4 separate regions of the Homo sapiens genome follow, and all the other regions are linked to region 4. The links are contacts of gene promoters, found by promoter capture Hi-C in blood cells and fetal thymus (Javierre and others, 2016). All regions are on one chromosome and are shown on one strand. Each heading gives the region's core, a stretch centred on a gene start or on the middle of the fragment in contact. The rest is flanking DNA. Distances are from core to core; before and after follow the strand shown.

Evidence for each region. Contacts are between HindIII fragments. The CHiCAGO score rates a contact against its expected background, and 5 or more counts as called.
Region 1: a contact is called between a fragment that was not itself captured here and the fragment with the promoter of GUCY1A2 in region 4, in 1 of 17 cell types (endothelial precursors). The highest score is 10.5, in endothelial precursors.
Region 2: a contact is called between a fragment that was not itself captured here and the fragment with the promoter of GUCY1A2 in region 4, in 2 of 17 cell types (megakaryocytes and endothelial precursors). The highest score is 8.7, in megakaryocytes.
Region 3: a contact is called between a fragment that was not itself captured here and the fragment with the promoter of GUCY1A2 in region 4, in 1 of 17 cell types (megakaryocytes). The highest score is 8.5, in megakaryocytes.

Annotation. Positions count from the first base shown.
Region 1 is chr11:106,149,694-106,152,490 of GRCh38, forward strand. No RefSeq gene overlaps it. Among named protein-coding and RNA genes, the nearest start is that of LINC02719, 19 kb to the left of the region's middle. The HindIII fragment of the contact is 5,904 bases long and covers 1-2,797 here.
Region 2 is chr11:106,085,304-106,088,164 of GRCh38, forward strand. All of the region lies in intron 2 of AASDHPPT (aminoadipate-semialdehyde dehydrogenase-phosphopantetheinyl transferase), which reads left to right. Among named protein-coding and RNA genes, the nearest start is that of AASDHPPT, 9.1 kb to the left of the region's middle. The HindIII fragment of the contact is 1,278 bases long and covers 628-1,905 here.
Region 3 is chr11:106,306,615-106,309,800 of GRCh38, forward strand. No RefSeq gene overlaps it. Among named protein-coding and RNA genes, the nearest start is that of LINC02719, 180 kb to the left of the region's middle. The HindIII fragment of the contact is 1,792 bases long and covers 746-2,537 here.
Region 4 is chr11:107,016,932-107,019,746 of GRCh38, forward strand. GUCY1A2 (guanylate cyclase 1 soluble subunit alpha 2) reads right to left here and starts at 1,545. Exons shown (of 8, transcript NM_000855.3): 1 at 822-1,545. The coding sequence starts at 1,124. RefSeq lists a silencer at 939-1,068. The HindIII fragment of the contact is 2,566 bases long and covers 1-2,558 here.

The DNA of each region.
Region 1 (2,797 bases), core at 147-2,646, 870 kb before region 4:
CTACGTATTTTGGGATTTCTGGTAGTTTGGTTTTATAATACAAATCTTTTAATTGAAAAGTCAAGAACAAATGAGGGTCCTCAGTCATGGATTCAATTCATTCAACTAATAATATGGTGAATAAAACAGATAAGATATGGTGAAAAAACCCAAAGACATTGGCTATCTGGGCTAAGAATTGCTACTACATTCTGCTCTTGAGTTCCCAGGAAAAGTGTACCACATCTACATATTTGCATTGTGTTTAGAAAATCTTTGAAATGCTGAAACCTGTTTGCTTATAGGACAAGCTAATGAACTAGCTTGGCAGTGAATGGAGAAAAACTTCAGTGAATACAGAAGTTTCAGAATTCACGAGACAATGGTGAGTGTTATTAGGGGACACAGGAAAGCCATATTGACCTTTTTGTGCAGACGATGAGCAGAAGTCATGGATGTCATGAAGACAGCAATAATTTTAACAGAAATAGGTAGCTATCAACAAATGTTTTTTATATATAAATTAGCTGAACATCCAAAATTCATATGACATACTAAATAAAGAGTGTCTTTCATTGGAAACAAATAAAATCACCTTAAATTAAAAATGAGAGTCAATTCTCTATCAAAATGCAGAAATAGAAATGGAAGTTAAAGTACTAGTTTTGGATGTTGAATTAATAACAATACATAACTACAATATTATAAAAATAAGAGACAATGTAATATAGTGGAAAGGGTGTTAGACCTAAAGTCTGTTAAGTCTGTGTTCAACCCAAATTCTTTCACTTGTTATCTCTGTAACCTTTGGAGAAGTTTTTGAACATATATGCATTTCCTCATATTTCATGTGTGTGTGTGGTAAGTTAATGTATAAGAAAACTTTTATATTACTGATATTTAATAAATGTAAGTTTTTTTCGTCTTTCTCCTTCCCATTAGTTAGAATGCATATCATTAGGCAGTGGGAGGATTCATTTTGTAATGAAAATGGTATATTGATAAGGGTAGAAACTCAATCATGATCCTGCCTACACTATAATTAGAAATCACATCTGAGGAAAAAAAACAGTAAATTATTATGAATCATTTTGGTGCTATCATTGGTTTTAGTGTAATTGTTCATTAAGCCTTTAAAATTATTAGACCTTGTTAATTAAAAAGCCTTTCCTGAAGTGCAATGAAGATGCTTATTCACGTCAAATGATTTACAGTGAGATCCCTTCTAATTACAGATGCTACAGCTTCATTTGCATAGTTGAGATAGTTAGCTTCCATACACAGCCAGTGCTCACTGTATCATGAAGTGGCTCCAGCATGCCACTTTAGATTAAAATGTGCTTTTGAAAATTAATATTGGGATTGGCAAAAGGAACACTATTGGGCTAGTTTTGTATTAAATCTTAGCCACATGCAAGATTAGTGTTAGAAGAGAGGAACACAGGTGTCAGAATCAAACATTTTTTATTTTGCTATGGGGGCATTGTGATATCCCCTTGACCAGAGAGGAGAAGAGACAGTGGTGAAGAGAATACTGTCTAGTTAAGGTGAATGCTGTGCTAACAACTATGTTAAATGATATTCTGTTTTTTAGCATAAAAACTGTAACAGCTGATATCTTAGCAATGTATTTGATCCTATTATTCAAATGATGCTTTTAAGACATTTTATATCCTCATTTATAATTTTTAATGAAAACTGCCATTGTAAATGGGGCAGTACATACACCAACCATTGAGAACCTCTTATCTGTCAAGAGCTATGAATCACAGAGCGGGAAAGAAGTCAAATTTTGATCAAATAAAAATATGAAGTCATATATTTTGATTTTATAAAGAAAAAATATAAAAAGCTAAAATCATTTTCTATTAGTATAAATATTAATAAAATGCTATTTATCATACAATACCAAGTGATATTTTTAGGATAATGTGCTCTATGGAAGTATACAGATGTCTCTTTCTTCTATTCAATATGTATTAGTATTCATCTAGAAAATATATATATATTTCATCAACAGATATATTTCACATATTTCATGATATATATATTTCACATATATTTATTATATTTAAAGCAATAATATATTTATAATAATAGTATATATTAAATATATATATTTCATCTGTTGAACAACTAGAGATAAATAAATACCAAGAAAAGGCTAAACATTTTGGGAAAATGTGAGATTTTATTACGAAAAAAGATCAGATTTGAGCCTGAGGAAGAAATAGTACAACTGTCCTTCTCAGGCGTTACTTTTTATTGTACTAGATAATTAAGATCAAGGCTTTTCATTAGCTGATCTGTTTTCTTGCCATTGTGTCAATATTTCGGTCCTGGATTTTAATTTTTCCTCAAATAGACTTAATCAGTTAATCAAACTGCTTTTTCCAGTAATTAGTCTGATCATACATTTTAACCACTAGGGAGAGCTAAGCAGTTTCAGTCTGTCACAATTTCAAGGTGATAGAGGCAGGAAACAGCCAAATGCCTAGGCAAATAGGGAAAGGTCCCTGGAGAACCTCCAACCTGCCCACATCACTGTGCGTGGGAGCTTGCATAAACATGCCTACAGTGAAAAATTCCATCCATTAACACATGAGCAATAAGGAAATTAAATCAGTATGGAGTGGCTCAGACTAAGGGTCTGCATGGGCACTCGGGGAATAGGGTGGAGCCACCAGGAATTTCTGCCTTATGCTGGGGAGGAGCCTGGCCTCTTCAACTTGTGTGTGGTGCCCTGATACTCATTTGTGAGGTGGAAACCTGCATGCAGGACCCCTGTTTGTGTTGAGAGCTTTCCTTTTGCTAAATG
Region 2 (2,861 bases), core at 17-2,516, 930 kb before region 4:
TGTTAGCCAGGGTGGTCTTGATCTCCTGACCTCGTGATCTACCCGCCTCGGCCTCCCAAAGTGCTGGGATTACAGGCGTGAGCCACTGCGCCTGGCCAGTTTTATTAACACTTACTAGAACACAATGTAATTGTATATTTGAGCAAACTTCTGAAAGATGGCTTTTGAAGCTTAAAATAATAAACCACTAAGTCAACAGATATGATTTCATATTAAATCATCTTTCACAAACCAGAGAATATATTGGTGGCAAATTTGACAGACAAAGGTTAATGTTGTTAAGATATGAAATGCCCCTCTAAATATCGATGGGAAAACCACTTAAGCCTTACTTGATGAATATAGGAAGGACTTTATAAAAACAGTTGACAAAAGAAGATACACATTTAACCATGACTTTGACAACAACCTCAGAGCTAATATTTATTAAGTACTTGATAGTTCCAGGCATTTTACATGTTTATTCTTAATCTGCCCAATTCTTTGTCCCAATTTTACAGTTTGAGAAACAGCCATAGAGATGTTAAGTAAATGTTAAATAAATAACCCACAGGTTGAGTATCCCTAGTGGGAAATCCACAGTGCTCCACTGAGTTTTTCCTTTGAGTATAATTTTGATGCTCAAAAAGCTTTGAGTTTTATAGCATTTTGGATTTCAGGTTTTCAGATTAGGGATCCTCAATCTCTAGCTAAGAAGTGATGGACCAGCATTTGAACATTTGACTGCAGGGACATAGAATTAAAACTCCGAAGGGTACGCGAATGTGTGTGCTTATGTATAATTTAAATTGTATCCATGTGTATATTAGTTTCTTCAGGCTGCTTAACAAAGTACCTCAAACATGGTGTCTTAAAGTGACCGAAAGCTCTTCTGTAAGTTCTGGAAGGCTGGAAGTTAAGGTGTCAGCAGGGCCATGGTCTCTCTGAAGGTTCTAAGAAAGAATCCTTCCTTGCTTCTTCCTAGTTTCTGCTCATTCCTAGCAGTCCTTGGCTTGCAGTTGCATCACTCCAATTTTTGCCTTCACCTTCAAATGACCTTTTCTGTCTCCTCTCTGTGTGTCTGTCTCTCCTTGTAAGGAAACCAGGCATTGGATTCAGGGCTCACTTTAATTAGGTATGACCTGATCTTAACTTGATTACATCTATAAAGACTCTATTTCCAAATAAGGTCACATTCTAAGGTTCTGGGTGGACATGAATTTCAGGAGACACCCTTCAACCCAGTAGAGTCCATTCTCTGGCCCCCTGCAAAATTTATATCCATCTAACATACAAAGTAAATTCACCCCATCCCAGCATTAGCAATTCTCAGCCCATTCCAGCATTAACTCTAAATCTCATGTAAGTGTTAATATCATCAACCCAAAAAGTGGCAGATCTCATCTCAATCATCTAAATCAGCTATGTGTGAAACTGGAGTATGATCCTTCTTGGGGCAAAATTCCTCTCATCTGTGGACTTGTGAAAGCAGAAAACAAGTCTTCTAAAAATCAGTGGTAGGAGAGGCATAGGATAGACATTCCCATTCCAAAAAGAAGTTCGAAGTAAAAAGGGGTCATTGTTCTCAAACATGTTCCAAACCCAGCAGAGTAAATTCATTAGGTTTCAAAGCCTGAAAATAAAAGGCTTCATGCTCTGTCCTCTTGGTCCTCTTCTTCATTCTCTGGAGTTCTTCCTGAAAGGATAACATTCGCAGCCCAGTAGTTCTAGCTCTATCAGCCTGTTTCTTGCCTCTGTGTGTTAATACCTATATGTGTTGGTAAACAATGTAAGAGCAACTGAAGTTTAGGACTGCCTAAATGGTGAGTTTCAAACCTAGGTTGACGTTATTTCAATCTAGTGCTTTTTCTGCTGTACTCCACAAATTGAGGGCTTAAATACATCCTTTGATAGTAACATGCAAGAAGCTTTGTGCATGTAGTTTGTGAAACCTATATTGGCAGCTCAGATATTTTTGTGTTATTCTAGGTTTTTGTCTGGATAAGTTCCTGGACAAATGAGCTGATAAGCATTACGGTGTACATACTAACTCATATCTTAGAAGACTGTCACTTCTCATAGAAGCAAAATTATATATAATTCTATTATATACAGTTTAGTACTTAGAAAGTGAAACTATTACAATTTCTAATATGATTTATTATCTAAGGCTAAATTTTGGTACTTTGAAGCAAGCACGTAGATGGGCATTGCTTAACTCCCTTCCACTTCCCTCAAAAATGACCAGCCCATTTTCCTAAAGGCTGAGGTAGTTATATGTATATATTTGTGTATACATATTGGTGACCTTGTTTTGGAGAGGGATTAATGTCGTAGGCCCTGAGGTTCTGGATTTTTTTCCGTAGGCCTGAAATAGTTGCTCAAGGCATTGGATCTAAATGATTTTGTTGTATGTTACTACTGTGTTTAAAATAAAACATTAGTTGCTGGGTGGTCTTGATTAGTTAATCATTCCAGAATACAATATCTAACACTGCTCTCCCTAATGATCAAGCTATAAGATGGAAGATCAGGTTTTTCTAAATTTGACTGATGATTCTCTGTGTATGTAATGGTATTATTAGAACTTGCCAACGTATGTGCAGTAATTGTGCTGTCTTCAAATAGTTTAAGGGACAAATTCACTGTTCTTCCTACCGATTTTTCTTTATTCCAGTTTCCTAGGTAAACTGCACTTAATACTTAACACAATATTTGCCCACTGTATATCCACCATAATGCCACAGTGTGGCGCTGCTGTGCTTTGGCCGAATATTTACGAAATCACCTTTTCCTATTGCTGTCAAATTTTTTATTTTGTGGACTAAATAAGATGCTCTAAAGTATATGAAAACGCACTCGTATCGGATATTTTTTGGCTG
Region 3 (3,186 bases), core at 392-2,891, 710 kb before region 4:
ACCAAGTCTCTTTTTTATACTATCTTCCACTGACTTGCATTCCAAGTACAATAGTTCTTTCAACAGAGCCAGTAGTCTTTTTCTTCTTGGATACTGCCATCTTCCTCTCTCCATAATGCTGAAATTTTGGTTACAGTGCCCTTAGAAAAAGATTCCCCCTCTCTTCTATCAATAGACAGATAACTTTCCTCCTCAAGTTCTTGCCTTGCCAATGCCTCCCTCTCGTCTTGATTTTCCAGTATTAGTTGGCCAACAGGGTCTGCTGCTTCCTCTCTGGGTCCAACTTGGCTGTTTTAGATATGGTTGCTTTTCAGAGGTCAAGCATCTCTGACTTGAAGAAGTGCACAGCTGAACAGATGGGTTTAAAAAAACTTGAGATTATTTCACTCTCCAGAATCTCCAAGTCATTTTATATGTTATTTCTAGGCCTTCCAAATACTACTATGCCTGGCATGAACCAAAACATTTCTTCCATGAAAATGACTGCCTTGTCAAGCTAAGTGCACATTCTGTCAATTGTCCAGCTTCATGCCAGCAGAGGGCAGGCAGGACAGATAATGTCCACAGACAATCTCTGATCCTCAGGTTACCTAATACATATGTTGATCCTGTACAGAATAACTCTGGGAATTGTATCAAGATTGTTAACCCTTGGCAAAAGGGTCTATTTGTCTTATCAAGGCATAAATTGATTAGCTGCCTAAAAGCTCTGGTACTTGTAGAATTTAGAAATTTTTTTGTATTAAGCTTTCTGGAAAGAATTGTTTTTCCAAGCCCATCTGATCCCCAGAATTTAAACCAATAATTTAACATCTTGACTAAGCATCAGAATCATACCTGCAGCTTATTAAAAATGCAGATGCATAATCCTCATTCCAGACTTACTAAAGAAATCACCTGAGTGTTGGGCCCGAGTATACCTGTAAAAGCTGTATACATTGTTTTGATATATAATCGGAATTGAGAATTCCAGATTTCCAACCCTGGGGAAATAAAAAGCATTGTTTAACCACTATTGGCTGCTTTGTGTTGTTGGCTTCAAAGAACTGTTTCAATAAATGTCAGTCTGAGGATCTTAACAAGATTTATTCAGTGTTAAGTACCGAAAATGATTTTCCTTATTGGTTAGCTTATTTATTTATTTATTTATTTTATTTATTTCTGTGGTGCTGCTGTTTGTTTTCAGTCTTTAAAATGGCGAAGAGTTGTTAAGTCATGCTGTAGTATATTTCCATTTGGCTCTGTTGTGTACATTAAAGCTCCCCTCAGATGGGTAGAAAGGATGATAAAACATATTTAGATAGCATCTCTGCACTCCTTGATAAAAACTGTAATTTTGGCTGCACTACTCAATGGGTGGTTGATCACCACACTTACAGGGCTCAATAAAAGCTCGAGGTTTAAGTAAGAGGCCTGAAATCTTGGAAGGGAAAGTTGTTCTGTTCCGGAAGATTGCATTGGACAGAGTCTCAGTGAAATCCTGCTCAGAGTATCCAAAACATGGAGACCATGCAACTGTTTTCAAGATGGTAAAGAAACTGACTTACTATAAAAATAATAACTTTGTGAAGAAATATAGGCAGGTATCTGAGAGAATGAGGGAAGGTAAATAGCTCTAAGGATGAGGCAACAAATTTATTAAAAGTCTGGGTTCTGGAAGGAGAGGTAGTTAGGAGTTTCCTGCGAAGGCTATGATTAGTCATTACCAACTAAAAATTACTGGGCCAGCTTTGCCAGCAGGCATTTGAAATTGTACATTCTATTCAGTATTGTAAAGATGGTTTAATGTAAGAACATCAATGCACATAATATACTATATCAATAGGGAAAGCCAGATTTATAAGACTTTAATAGTTTGCTAAAAGACATTTGCTAAAAGTAATTTACTATTTTTTAAAATATAACAAAAATAATAGTTTTCCACAATATAATAAAGAACAACTAAGATTATGTCAATCAGTGCTGACAAGAGTATACGATGAAACAGGCACTTTCATTAATTGTTTGTGTCAATGTAAACTGGTTCAAGAACTTTGAAAAATAATTGAATCTATATATTTCATGAGACAGATAAACTTTGACACATTAATTCAAATTTTGTCATTCTTTCTTAAAAAAAAAATCCAAAATGATGATAAAAGCTCCAAGCACAGAGATACTAATTTGAGAATTATTTATTAAAATAAAATTAGAAGTAACTATATGAGGGATATCCAAAATGTCTGAGTGTGCCTGCCTTAAGTTTAAACAAAATTTTTGCATGCATATCTTTTACATGTCCAGTTATTTATGTGTAAATTATACACATGTACTGATGTGTTAATATATTCTATTACATGATAATATATATTATATAGGCATACACACAAGAGAAATTGAAAAAGGATGAATTAAAATGTCATCAGTAATATTTTTTGGTTAGGACATAGTGATTGAGTATACCTTCTATTTTTGAAAATGTTGATTTAATATTATCTATTGCAGCAATTCCATGGTCTTCATTTAAGACCACTGTTTTTAATACTTTTTAAAAATCAAGCTTATTTTGACAAAATTTGCACAGTCAAATTCATTCTTTTAAAGAATACAGTTTAATGAGTTTTGACAAATGTATGTAGTTCTCTAACCACTACCACAATCAAGATAAAGAATATTTCCCTAACCTCAAGAAGTCTCCCTGTTCCTCTTTTCAATCAATTTCCTGCCCCTAACCCCAGCTCCTGGCAATTACTCAATTTCTCTCCCTATAATTTTTTCCCTTTGGTTTTCACAAATCTAACAAAAATAATGAAAAGAGTCTTCCTCCATATAATAAAGAGCAACTAAGATTATGCCAATCAGTGCTGATGAGAGCCAGAACTTTTCCTTTTCCGGAGAGTCTTATACATTGTAGCACTTTTGTATCTGGCTTCTTTCATGTTGCATAATGCTTTTGAGGTTTAAACATCCTGTTGAATTTATCGGTAGTTTATTACTGTTTTATTTATGGGTAGTATTTCTTATATAGATATACAACAATTCATTCATCAGTTGATGGATATTCTGGTTGTTTGCAGTTTTGGGCTATTATGAATATGACTGCTATAAAAAATTGTATACAGTCTCTGTGTGAATATATGTTTTAATTCTCTTGGGTAAATACCTAACAGTGATATTTCTGCTTATATGGTAAGTGCATGTTTTCTA
Region 4 (2,815 bases), core at 295-2,794:
ACCTAGGTGATGAGTTAGTAGGTGCAGCAAACCACCATGGCACACGTTTGGTACCTATGTAACAAATCTGCACATCCTGCACATGTAACCCGGGACTTTAAATTAAATTTAATTTAAAAAAAAAGAAATCCAGACACCAGGTTTACCCAGAGAAGAATAAATGCCTAGTGGATAAGAAAGAAAAAGAAAAAAAGCTACGGGGTGAGGACAACTCGAGATTAGAGATTACTTGAACAGAAGGCAACTCAGAAAAGTATCTGGCAAAAAGTATCTGAAGATGTGAGAAAAAGGATGCAACATAGAATGCAGATAGCCTGTGGAATTCAAAGATGTCAGAGAAGGTCACGCTAAGACCAAGAGAGTGTGGGAAATAAGGAGAGGAAGGGTTTCCTGGAAGGGGTTGGGGCTCCTTTGGGATGCTGGAGAACAGGATGAAAGACAGGGAAGCTGAACTGCAGAACACAGTGCCTGGGAAAGTTTAGGGGAAAGAAAACAGGTGGGTGTGAAGCAGCACTGGGGCTGTCCAGGGGGAACAGTGGTGAAGTAGGGTTCAAGGCTAGAGGTGGGCAGACAGGCCCCCGAATCAGGATACCCCAAAGGAGTGGAATCTTATTCCTTCCCAGTGCTGTAGTCCCCTCTTCCGCCCTAGCCTAGGGGATCCTCTGTCGCCGGAGCCACTGGAACCCTAGGCCGTGCAGGGTAAGGCCGGGCCGCCCCCCAGCGGTCGGGCTCTGCGCTCGCGCCCCGGCTCGCCCAGCGCCAACTTTACAGATCCGCGTTCTCTCCCCCGAAGGCGGTCCCCCCTTCCGCCCCCCGCTCACCGAGGGCGCCGTCAGGCGGCTGATGCTCTCGCCCAGCGAGTCCAGGTTGACCCGCCTCCGGCGCTGCACCCTCCTGGCCCCGGCAGTGGCAGCGGCGGCGGCGGCAGAAGCAGCCGGGGTCGGGGCCGGGGCGGCGGCAGCGGCAGCTGCGGCCGGGCTGGGCTCCAGCGGCCCGGGCGGGCTCCGGCTGCCATTCCAGCAGAGCCTAGACAGGGGGCACTCCCCCTCCTCCTCCGGGCTGGTCTCCAGGTAGTCGGAGCCCAGGGAGCTGAAGGACTCGGACGAAATCTTCCTTCGAGACATGCTGCCGGCGGAGCTGCAGCGGCCGAGGCGGTGGCGGCGAGGACGCGAGCGGCGGCGGAGGCGGCGGTGGCGGGACCGGCAAGCGACAACGTTAAGCGCGTCGGGGCCGCGGGGCGCTGCGGTCGCGCCCGGCGGGGCGGGAGTCCCCGGGGCCGCGGAGCCCCCCGAGCCGGCTGCTCATGGCGGGAACTTGGGGCGCCGCCGCACCTTGGGGCCCGGGCTCGGCGGCGGCGCCGGGCTGGGCTGGGGGCCGCCGCCGCCTCTGCTGCTGCTCGCGCGGCGCCGCCTCAGCGCCCGCCTCGGCGCATCGCCGTGCGCCGCGCTCCCGCTCACGGGGAGGCTCCGAGAGTGTGTGACCGCGGTCGGCGGGGCGGGGAGGGCTGCGGCCCAAGCAGAAGGGGAGGCAGAGGCAGAGGCTTCTGCCGCCTGCGCGCCTATCTCGCCCCCTTTCCCTCTCTGCTCCCGCCTCTCTCCACTTGCTGCCCTGCCTCCCTCCTTCTCCCTTTATCCCCCCGCCCCCCCCCATGCTCTCCCTCCGCGGGAATCACGTGTCGCCATCATACTCATTGGGAGTCTCTGCCTCGCCTGTCGCCACGTTTCAGGAGCAACGAGGACACTTCGTTGCTGTCCTCTGCGCGCCCTCCCTGCTCCGAGGAGGTGCGCACAGGAGCTCGGGTCGGACTGAGGGCCCCAACCCCAAACGCCTTATCCTCGGCCCTCGGGAGCAGATGGGTCCCGGCGGCGCTGGTGGGGAGAAGGGCTCGGGGCTGGGGGGCGAGAGGCCTCCCCCTGGAGCCACCTTGGGGAAACCTGACAGTGTGAAGTGGGGGTTAGGGTCCATGTTGTCCTTTCTCCGAGTTTATTTAGGAAGTTCCGAGGCAAAAGGGAAAGGCCAAGCGTCCAGCCAGCCCACTCCAGAGGAGACGCTTTCAGGGGAAGGGAAGGACAGGGGCAACATTTTGGCGCCCATCCTGCTGGAGCAGCTCCTGGGGACTTGTGTTCCCCGCCTCGTGCGAGGCCGTGTGGGCGCGGAGCGAGCCCAGAAAGGGGCGGCAGTGAGGACAGCGTCTGCTCTGACAAGACAGCACTGTTGCTGAGCCTCAGCCGGGCGGGGTGCGCGGGGCTCCCGGCTCCGCTGGCTCCTCACTAGTGCTGGACAGCTCCGCTTGCCACCTATAGCCGCCTTTGCAGGCGTTGAGAACTGGAGAACAGTTCCTCCTCAAACGACCTAGCACCTGGCCCGGGGGAAACCGGGGAATGATCCCACGTCCCTCATCCTCAGGGCTCTTTGCGCCAAATATGCGATCTGTTTGCACCTGACTGCAAATGCTGCTCAGAAAGCTAAGGGGAGTAGGGATAAATGCTTCTCGAACTGACTCGCCACAGCGCGAGCATGTCTTGCCGCGAGTTTTCAGCTGTGCGGCTTCATTCCAAAGCTTATCTCTTTGCAAACCAGTCCTTCCAGCGCCTGACCCCACTGCCCCTTGCCTTAGCCCCAGAAAACTCTCATACTGGTTCTGAGGATAGAGTAAGAGATGGGAAGAAGGGGCAAATGACAGTATCCCGAAAGGGGTTCCAGGCTGTACTTCCCCCTGCAATGAAGTGGATGAGCACCCTCCCCAGCTCACCCGATCTGCGGAGAGAAAAGTTTAGGGGCTCTGGCTTTAGTTTCCCAGTGAAACCGAAGCCAA